Regions from separate parts of the Homo sapiens genome. Here region 1 is linked to region 2. Evidence: promoter capture Hi-C in 16 types of primary human blood cells and fetal thymus (Javierre and others, 2016). All regions are on one chromosome and are shown on one strand. Each heading gives the region's core, a stretch centred on a gene start or on the middle of the fragment in contact. The rest is flanking DNA. Distances are from core to core; before and after follow the strand shown.

What was found. Contacts are between HindIII fragments. The CHiCAGO score rates a contact against its expected background, and 5 or more counts as called.
Region 1: a contact is called between a fragment that was not itself captured here and the fragment with the promoter of ID4 in region 2, in 1 of 17 cell types (megakaryocytes). The highest score is 6.8, in megakaryocytes.

The regions. Positions count from the first base shown.
Region 1 is chr6:20,054,626-20,059,788 of GRCh38, forward strand. No RefSeq gene overlaps it. Among named protein-coding and RNA genes, the nearest start is that of MBOAT1, 160 kb to the right of the region's middle. The HindIII fragment of the contact is 1,998 bases long and covers 1,971-3,968 here.
Region 2 is chr6:19,833,217-19,838,657 of GRCh38, forward strand. ID4 (inhibitor of DNA binding 4) reads left to right here and starts at 4,154. Exons shown (of 3, transcript NM_001546.4): 1 at 4,154-4,979; 2 at 5,368-5,426. The coding sequence starts at 4,539. The coding sequence ends at 5,412. The HindIII fragment of the contact is 2,827 bases long and covers 3,447-5,441 here.

The DNA.
Region 1 (5,163 bases), core at 1,720-4,219, 220 kb after region 2:
TACAGTGACCCATGATGGCACCAGTGCACTCCAACCTGGGCAACAAAGCAAAAGTCTATCTCCAAAAAAACCAAACAAAATTTAATCCTTTGACCATGTGATTTTGTATCGTATGTTATACTATATTATGTATTATGCATCATGTGTATACATTATTTAGACATTTTTTGCTTTTAAATTCTTCAAGTGGATGTGCCTAGGTAGCTGGACATTTTGTCTTCTCGTCCTTCATCCCGGGTCCGGGTCATCCCACACATGCACCACCTCTTGGGCAGATCAGGGAGCTCTTCTGCTCTGTCAGAAATGAGACAGGAATGGAACAACTGGCTGTGTGGTGAGGTAGGGCCGGGGAGAGGAGAAACTCAGGGGTACAAGGGTGAGGGGAGGGAGAGAGACTCCTAGTAAGTCTTCTCATGAGGTCCGAGAGAGAAGCAGCCACATGATGGCTACAGAAACAAGGAATGAAAGCTTTCATGTCTGGCGTGTGGAGCACATGGGGCCATCTGAGTGCTTTCTCCAACCTTGGAGAAGGCACTTTCTAGTCTCTGCACAAGGGAGATTATGAATTATGGATTATGGATTGCAATGGGGATACTTGAGTCAGAGGTAAGAAGGTGAAGTGCATGTCCTACTGGAAACTGTGTGTGTGTGTGTGTGTGTGTGTGTGTGTGAGAGAGAGAGAGAGAGAGAGAGAGAACACGAGTAAGAACAGCAAGACTGGCTAGTAAGAAATCTACTAGGAATGCATTTCTAGCATGAAAGGCATGATCCTAAGATTATACATAAACACAAAGAATCAGCAGCCCAATTACATTTCACCTGTAGTCCCAGCTACTCAGAAGGCTGAGGTGGAAGGATCACTTGAGCCCAGGGAGGTCAAAGCAGCCGTGAGCTGTGGTCATACCGCTGCACTCCAGCCTAAGCGACAGAGCAAGACCCTGTCTCAAAAACACAAACAAACAAACAAACAAAATGTTATTTTATTCTTTTTTGTAATTTGGAGCAATTTTGATAACTAAATAATATTTAATTAACTCAAATTTTCTTTTCTAACAGTTGACTCCAACTTTCTTTTTGAACCAGGAAAGAAATACGTTACACATGGATATGCTAGTCAGAAACAAAAGTCATGGGTAAAGTAATGAATTTTCAAAGTTACTTTAAAACAGGCCCATTTTTGTATATGTATGTGTGTGTTTTCAACCACCATGGCTTCCCAAAATTAAAATATACTGGGAAATGGGGGACTATAGGGATGGGGTGGAGTAGAGATGAACAAACCAACATTTCCAATTCCTGAACAGGATTCCCCCAACTTGCTATTAAGACACTGGGCTGCATGCAGGATTCGGAATGTTCATATATGGACAACCTAATCCATTGTTTTATTTTCACTCCTTCAGCCCAAACAAGTGTCCTCACTCTCTTCTGTCTTGCTTCTGGATCTTAATGTTTGCATGAACAAAACATTAAGAAACGAGAGAGCAATCCAGTGTAGCAAAGCGCTATCGCTGCAAATAGTCATCTTGAGGTTTGTTGGGATTTTCAGAAAGTAAGACACGTTCACGGTTATGAGTGGGCATCCGATTTACCTGCTAGAAATGTAAGTGACTCTTCACATGGGCCCTTTTCTCCAAAAACACCACCTTTCAGAGAGATGAAGTGAAGTGGGGAGACTAAGAATCTAATATTTTCAGCTACATAAATTCATTTCAGCATAAACTCATCTCAGCTTGAAAATCTGAACAATGTAAATTTACTCTCCAGAGAGAAAGATAAAGAGAAGAAACGGCAAGATTTCTCCCTGGAATCTGTTGAGAATAAAGAGGGAGCATGGGTGTGGGGACGTGCATTTTGTGCTGTACCTTTGAAAAGAGAACAGAACACAATGTCCTAAGATAAATCGTCATTTTCTGAAGCCAGCATTTTCTCCCAAATTCTTAAGGAAATGTTGCCACCTTCTGGACAAAAGCTTAGTAAGCATTCACCACAACCCTGCTTTCCAGCTTATTTATAAACTCGTTTACATGAGTTAATAAATAATTTTGCTGTGACTTTTCTATTATTCTACCTGCACAGCACTGATAGCCTCAAAAACTCAAGTCACTATAAAAGCACTAATCATATGCCTAACAGAACAGAAAGCCCACTTTGCCAATTAAGCAGATTCTTCAAGAGAGAAATAATCACACTGACAAAGTTTACCAGATTTTAAAAAATCTCATTCATGGACTTCTTAACTCTTACAGGGTTTGAAGAATGGTGGGTAGACTCTCAACCAGGTTTTCTCTTTACAGTTTTTTTTTTAATTACAACTTCTCTCTTTTAATAATAGGTTCAAATTCATCTAACCAAATAGTCTTGAATTTGATTTTTTTTCAATGTATTTTAAGGTCATCAGTAATATTTTGAGCATTCAGAAACAAAGACATCTGTGCTCATATCCTGAGAATTTGTAAAATGCTCACATTTCTTTACCGTAATGGGTGGGCCCTTCCCATCAGTCAATTCTCATTACCAATGTTTTCAATAAAGCAAGGCAGTTAAGGTGGACACGCTTTATGTGAAGAGCTATGCATTGTGCAAAGAAGGCGCCTGCCCACTTAGTACTGAGCATCTTCCCCATGCTTACGCCTGAGGTTTGCGTCTCCAACGTGGAGGAGTCTGCAAGACGACGAAGTTCATTGCTCTGCTGGATGAGGACCGCATTACTTGATCTTCTCAGCGCTGTTTAAATGTCCAATAAACCCAATGTCCCTCTTCATTCAGGATCTCGCCGAGGGCTTAGAGGAAAGCTGCAGTACTTCTCAGAGAAGCTCTATTCATTTTTCTGAGGATGTGGCTGATGAAATTGACAGCCCTGTCTTCCTCATCCATGTTTTCGCAGGTGGGAAATTCGGTGGTGAAGCCCCAACTTGCGGCATGTCCCTAACACTGCTGATAGCCTTGTCTTCTGTTCTCCAGCCCTTCAGGTGGCTGACCAGGAGCCCTACTGCACGATCTAAGGTGTTAACTCAATTCTGTGCTAGACCGTTGCCTTGGTTTCCCCCACAGTCATTGCAGCAGCGGGCTACATGGCATCTCTGCAAATTAAAGAAGTGCACGGAAAGGAGAAAAGCCAACTGTTTTGACCAAATCGCAGACAGTGCTTTTCCTCATCCACCAGACATGAGAACCAATGGAGGCAAATGGAAAAAAACACATCCTTCTTAGAAATCTTGTTTGGGCCGGGCGCAGTGTCTCGCGCCTGCAATGCTGGCACTTTAGGAGGCCGAGGCAGGTGGATCACCTGAGGTCAGGAGTTTGGGACCAGCTTGGCCAACATGGTGAAACTCCGTCTTTACTAAAAGTACAAAAATTAGCCGGGCATGGTGGTGCGCGCCTGTAATTCCAGTTACTCGGGAGGCTGAGGCAGGAGAATTGCTTGAACCCGGGAGGCGGAGGTTGCGGGGAGCCGAGATCGCACCACTGCACTCCAGCCTGGGCGACAGAGCAAGACTCTGTCTCTAAAAAAAGAAAAAAATGAAAAGAAAAATATCTTTTCGTTTTGAATGGGGAAGCCCCTGGTGCAGAAATGTCTTTGGTACTGGTGATAATCTGGGCCTGTGAGTGCTAAATTGATTCTCTGTCCTGCAGGGGCTGAATATCAAGGAACAAATGCATTAATCATGGGAGAGCCTGTGTGCCAACGAGCATAAAGACCACTGCACCCAGCAGCGGCGATTGCGTGAACCTTTCCACAGACCACACGCTCCGAAGTAGCTCTCTGAAGTCTCATTACTGAATGTGTAGGGGAGGGATGGGGGGTTGCATCTGACTTTCACTGAAATGTGCATTTAGAAATAAGTGTATTTACATTTAGTTTTATGTTTAAAAAGGGGGGTAGGGATGGGGAATCTTTGGGCCACAGTCATTATAGATGAAACAAACACACGGACACAGATAACACACACGCGCACATGCACAAAAGCTTTCGGGGAGAAACAGAAAATAATGTTTTGCAATTACAGTCCACAGCTGCTGCAGTTCCAGTGTGCGTGTGCTACACAGGTGCGGCCATTATAACAATGAATAGCGCACATTAAACGTGCCATCCATAGGGGTAATAATACTAGGGTTGAAAAGGTATTTTCATTTGCAACCTGATGTTAGGCAGAAAATAAAATAAGGCATTTCACAGCCAGCCTGATGGCTCGGCTACCACATGGGAGGCCCAAGCCTGAGATGAATCTGAGACCCTTATGTGTGTGTCTAACAGTGGGAACCTGGCCATGGTTCCTAGAGAGACCGTCAAATTTCTTTCTGTTCTAAAAAGCCTGCTGACCATGAAGTGGGGGAAACTGAGGCTCCACACAGTTTATCCAGTTAGCAGTATCAGCCAGCATGACATCTATCCCTGCCCAGCGCCTACTAGTGTCTGGATCCTAGAAATAGTGTTGGGGGAAAAAATACAGAGAGAGGTTCCCCCATGGGTGGGGAAGTAGAATGGCTCCCACAGAGAAGGAACCCTGGAGGAGGAAGTGGTTTTGAGACAGCTCCCCTTAGGCCCTGTCTCTGCACCATGCCATCACTAAGCTCTACCCCACAACTCAGCAATGTTCTTCCCTGGGACAGCCCCAGAAGGCTTGGCTCTAAGCCCAAAATAGCCGACCTGCTTTGCTCACCTCTCTCTTTAAAAGCCCAGCAGCAGAATGGGCCCTGTATCTCATTTCATTTACTTTCCACAGCTTCTCAAATCACTAAACTCTTCACTCTTGGTGGACAAATTCATCTTCAGGCAACCAAGACATTCATGAAGATTGGCAGTTGGAAAACGCTGGAAAAGAGACAGCTTTGGGTAGTGACAAGAGAGTGAGCTTTAGAATCAGAGGACAAAAGACCCCATCTCAGCACGGCCAGCTCTGTGATCTTGAACAAATTATTTAAACTCTCTGAACCTCTGCAAAATGAGGTTAATAGTATCTGCTGCATAGGGTTGTCGTAAGGCTCTAATGACACCAAGTATGTGAAAATACTTAACGCCAAGCTTGGAACTAGCAAGCACTAAATAAATAATAGAGATTATGAGAGTAACTTCCATTTCTTTATCTCATAATAGAGATTATGAGAGTAACTTCCATTTTCCTGAGTGGGTCTGTGAATAACTTCTAACCCATTCTCAGC
Region 2 (5,441 bases), core at 2,904-5,403:
GCAGATCACCTGAGGTCAGGAGTTCAAGACCAGACTGAACAACATGGTGAAACACCATATCTACTAAAAATACATAACTAGCCAGGTGTGGTGGTGGGCGCCTGTAATCCCAGCTACTTGGGAGGCTGAGGCAGGAGAATTGCTTGAACCTGGAAGGCGGAGGTTGCAGTGAGACAAGATCATGCTATTGCACTCCAGCCTGGGCAACAAGAGTGAAATTCTGTCTCAAAAAAAAAAAAAATCAAAACTTCTGCTCTAAAAGAAGATTGTGAAGTAAATGAAAAGTCAGTCCACAGACTGAGAGATATTTGCCAAAAATGGTAATACATTGTAACATGGTTTGCCCACTTATGTGCCAACCACTGTTCTAAGAACTTTACTGAATTTCTTTTACAGAGACCATATATATAATATGTGTATCTCATAAACACCTTATGAAGTAAATGCAATTTTAATCATTCCAAATATGAAAGGTATAGGAATTTAAGAACCCAGCTGAATGATATAAAACTAATAAGCAAAGAGGCCAAAATTGGGGCTTAGGCTGTCTCACTTCAGAGTCCATGCTGTTTATATCTCCTAAGGTAAAAACAAATTCCACTTATTTCTCCCCATTTTTCTGTCTTTTAATCTAAGGGGGGCTTTCAAAAAGTCACTTCTTATTTAAACCAACTACCTTTAAAACTCCCCAAACAAGGCATTTTTGACAGCCACATCTGCCCAGCCATGTTCAACGTACAACGTCCTCTTCCTACAAGCCTTTTCCAGGACCTAGCAAACTAAGGGGTTATCAGCATTTCCGGGACTAGTATCAGCAATCCAAGGGTAGCACAAGTAATTTTGTAACACTTAGTGCCTGATAAAGCAGCCTTGAGCTTGAATTGCCACATTGCCCAACTTACTCTTTGGGAGCAAGGGACAGTCCTGCTGCAGAGTACATAGTGGTTTCTTATGCCCTCAAAGAATGCATGTGCCTCTTTCTGTGACGACAAATCTACAGAGTGACCAAGGCATTGGAACATTCACGTTTATCTGTGTATGAGTACACTCACTGTTTCCCTGGAGGCTATGGAGAAACAAGTATCAAGTCCTAAAAAGGCACTGGGAATGAAGAGCACAATATGCTTCCATACCCTTGCTTCATGTAAACACAGGGTGACTATGACTTCTAAAGGCCTGGGTGTTGCAGTTCAGTGAGGGCCTGATTTAGTAGCTAGAATACATCTCAGGGAGGACAGCAGACCTCTTTGTCTGGAGGAAGGGTGTATCCATGACTCTGGTCATCACGGCTTTCTAGCAATTCTCCTATGAATGTTTCATTCTAGGTTCCTACTGAGGTATATTTTGGGAGTCTCGAGCATTTCCATGACAAAAGGATTTGGGTTAGCCCATTTTACTTTTACAAGTGCAAGTGAAACACTTTGATGTAAAAGAGTCACCAACAGACTAAGTTACCTTCTCTGCACAGTAGAAATAACATAGCTTGTAAGGTTTATCCAAAATCTGAGTGATAATTGGGTAAACTGTTTTGAATTATCAGTGCCAGGAATCTTCCATGATTGCAGCTTTGATGTCATGTAAGTGTCTATGTCTAAGAATACAAAAACATACATTGCATAGCCCCTAGTACTCTCTGGTTTCATGGACCAAAACGTGCAGGATTGTATTCCTTATTCCCATAGTATATGGTAGCACTTTAATTTTTTAATGTCTTCATGCCTTCCAACCTTCAAAACAAGGAGCACAGTAACTGCCTCTGCCTACTCTGCTAGCAGGATTTACGGATCACATCTTTCCTGGGTATTCTTGATCTTGTGGCTGAGGTACATTCCTTTGAAACCACCTCTTCCACCCCACCCCACACAGAGTAACTCAGTCTTTCTAACTTTAAGCCAGTCACACAGAGCATCTCCAACAAAACCTGAAACTTAGGCATTTGGCGCTTGTCACACCCAAGGCATGGCTTTCTGAGATTTAGCAAATTCCAAAAAGGTCGATATGATTCTTCCTTTGTGTTACGTATTCAAAACTTAAATTTTAATTTTAATCGTTAGGATATGTAAAATGTTTAAATGTAAGTGTGTCCTGGGCATATTAGCATAGTTTTATTTTGCCAAACAGAGGAAAGTCTTGGGTTTTGAATTTGGAAGCAAATTTTAAACTCTAGGAAAGAGAAAGATCAATGGAACAAAACATCTGTACATATATCCATTTATTATTATCGTCTGTGCTCATATGACTGGCTCCAAGATAATAGCTTACAACCAGTAGTGCTGGCTTCACCGACTTCCCATTTAAAATTACAACATTTTCTCTGTATTTGCATTAATTTAATGATGTATATGACTATGCCTGTCTTTAGAAGAAAGCCCTTCTGAGTTTCATAATTCTGATTTTCTCGATTAATGTGTATGTAGACCATCTACGTATGCACATAAATAAATGAGAATGGCACTTGTTTCCAAACAATTATTAGAAGCAGTAACATACAAGGATTAGGGGAGAGGAGGGTTATTGCATCTACCTGTGAAACCAGAATTAAATAGTTGCTCCTCATTTCATCAGGAGAAAGGAATGTGCTCTGGGGAATAGTGCGATAGTCATAAAGCACTGACATAGCTAAACAAAATATCTGCCTGGTGCAGGTATTTCAGTTCTGGGAATGGATGTAGAAAAAGTCCATATAGGGGTAGACAGGAAGAAATGAGGTCCATGTCTCTTTCTTTCAATTATCTATGAAAATGAAGACACCAATCCATGTCATGTACACGAATGAAGAAAATTCTTGGGTTAATTCATCTCCAAGCGTGTCTAAAGGTGGGAGGGTTTGTAGAGTGAAGGCACTCAAAATTCATTTCCCCATTGTCTGAGAATTTTTATGCACCTTTCTCATCTGAAGGGCTCAATTTTTTCTTGAAGGGTACACACAATGCTCCACCAAAGCTCATTGTGCAATTTTATTTTGAACCCTTGAAGGACAGCTTTTCTCTAAGAAATCTAACACAAAAACGCCCTTAATTAACAGGCTTTTTTTTGCAGGGTGGGGCCCAAGCGGGATCCCAGAGACTGGAAGTGTGAATTTTAATGCTTTGCTGTCAAAGGAGGCGACTCTGGACATTCTCATCACCTTATTTAAAGCGGGGTACGCTGACTAATACGTGAAGCTGTGCATTAATGGCCTAAATTAAGTTACAGGTATGAATTTTACATAAAACAGATTAATATTATATGTCATAATGGAATTTTAAATATTCCGTGTCCATGCATTTTTAATCTTTACGTGCTCTAATTGAATGCGCAAGGCAACTGCATTTCTTGAGCCCACTTTTGCATTTAGATGGGGTAAAAGAACCCCCCCCACGTTTTTGTTTTATTTATATTCCCTTCACCAAAAACCTGCATTCGATTCGGCATTCTTTTCCTTCTTTTTTTTTCTACTTTTGCTAAGCTTTAGCATTTTTTAAAAAGAAAACGGAAAGGCTACACATTCCATTCCATCATTATGGTTTCGGCAAATGTGAAAAGGCGAATAATGAAACGGAGGAGGGAAATATAGAACAGAATGAACGTGCCTTCTTGAACAGCGCGTCTTTCTTAAGGCACTGGAATCCCACGGATGGAGTGATGGGTGGCGGAGGGTCCCTGGGCGCCGTGCTATTAGGAGTGGCAGGGTATCCGCGAGCAGGGCCCAGGCGCTCCCTCAGCAGCCTAGTCGGGATAAGGGGGGCGGTGGAGAGTGAATTCCGGCCGCACATTCCCGCAGTTCTTCGCAGGAACTTCGCTCTCTCTTTTCCCCTCCCTTGGGCACACATCAGCCTGGCCCGACTCCCACTCAGCTCTCTTTTCTCAGAACCCCGACCCACAGCGTTGACGGAATGGAGTGCCCTTCCCATTGGCCCGAGCGTCATTCCCCGAGGTGGCACTGCCCGCCTGATTGGCTGGCCACTCCAGACCCCCCGCCCACTCCTCCACTCGGGTAGCCGGACTCCCCGCCCCCCAGCACCGCCCGGAGCCCCCGCCCTCGCCTCTCCCTCCGCGCCCCCGCCCGCGCGCCCAGCGGGCTCCGCTCGGCTCGCGCTGCGACCCGGCCCGCGCGCTGGTCCCGCCCCCGGGGCGCACGGCTCTATAAATACAGCTGCGCGGCGGGCCGGGCGAGAGCGTAGTGGAGGAGGCGCGGTTGTGAGTAGTACCGGGAGTGGGGTGATCCCGGGCTAGGGGAGCGCGGCGGCCGCGATCGGGCTTAGTCGGAGCTCCGAAGGGAGTGACTAGGACACCCGGGTGGGCTACTTTTCTTCCGGTGCTTTTGCTTTTTTTTTCCTTTGGGCTCGGGCTGAGTGTCGCCCACTGAGCAAAGATTCCCTCGTAAAACCCAGAGCGACCCTCCCGTCAATTGTTGGGCTCGGGAGTGTCGCGGTGCCCCGAGCGCGCCGGGCGCGGAGGCAAAGGGAGCGGAGCCGGCCGCGGACGGGGCCCGGAGCTTGCCTGCCTCCCTCGCTCGCCCCAGCGGGTTCGCTCGCGTAGAGCGCAGGGCGCGCGCGATGAAGGCGGTGAGCCCGGTGCGCCCCTCGGGCCGCAAGGCGCCGTCGGGCTGCGGCGGCGGGGAGCTGGCGCTGCGCTGCCTGGCCGAGCACGGCCACAGCCTGGGTGGCTCCGCAGCCGCGGCGGCGGCGGCGGCGGCAGCGCGCTGTAAGGCGGCCGAGGCGGCGGCCGACGAGCCGGCGCTGTGCCTGCAGTGCGATATGAACGACTGCTATAGCCGCCTGCGGAGGCTGGTGCCCACCATCCCGCCCAACAAGAAAGTCAGCAAAGTGGAGATCCTGCAGCACGTTATCGACTACATCCTGGACCTGCAGCTGGCGCTGGAGACGCACCCGGCCCTGCTGAGGCAGCCACCACCGCCCGCGCCGCCACACCACCCGGCCGGGACCTGTCCAGCCGCGCCGCCGCGGACCCCGCTCACTGCGCTCAACACCGACCCGGTGAGAGGCCGGGCGCCGGCCGTGGGCGGACGCCGCGGGGGATGGGAGGTTGGTGGCGTGGTGGCGGGACGCGGGCGCTCACCGTCCTCCGGGCAGGGGCGGGCCAGGAATGACAGCCCCCTCCCCCTGCTCCTCCGGGCTCCCCCGGGCCGCCAGCAGCCGGCCGGGCTCGGCGAGCGCGGGTCCGGGAGAACGCGCAGGGCGGGACTCGGGGCTGTGGGCGCCCTGGGCTGTCAAGTCCCGCCTGAGCCCGGAGGGGCCCCCCCGGCTACAGGCTGGGGTGGGGGCGTCGGCGCGCCAGCCTGATTTCCGAGGACAATCCAGGACCGTGTCGAGCGCGTTGTTTGCGCCTGCTAACCTTTCCCTTGGTGTTCGGTTGCTGTTCCAGGCCGGCGCGGTGAACAAGCAGGGCGACAGCATTCTGTGCCGCTGAGCCGCGCTGTCCAGGTGAGCGCGCATTTC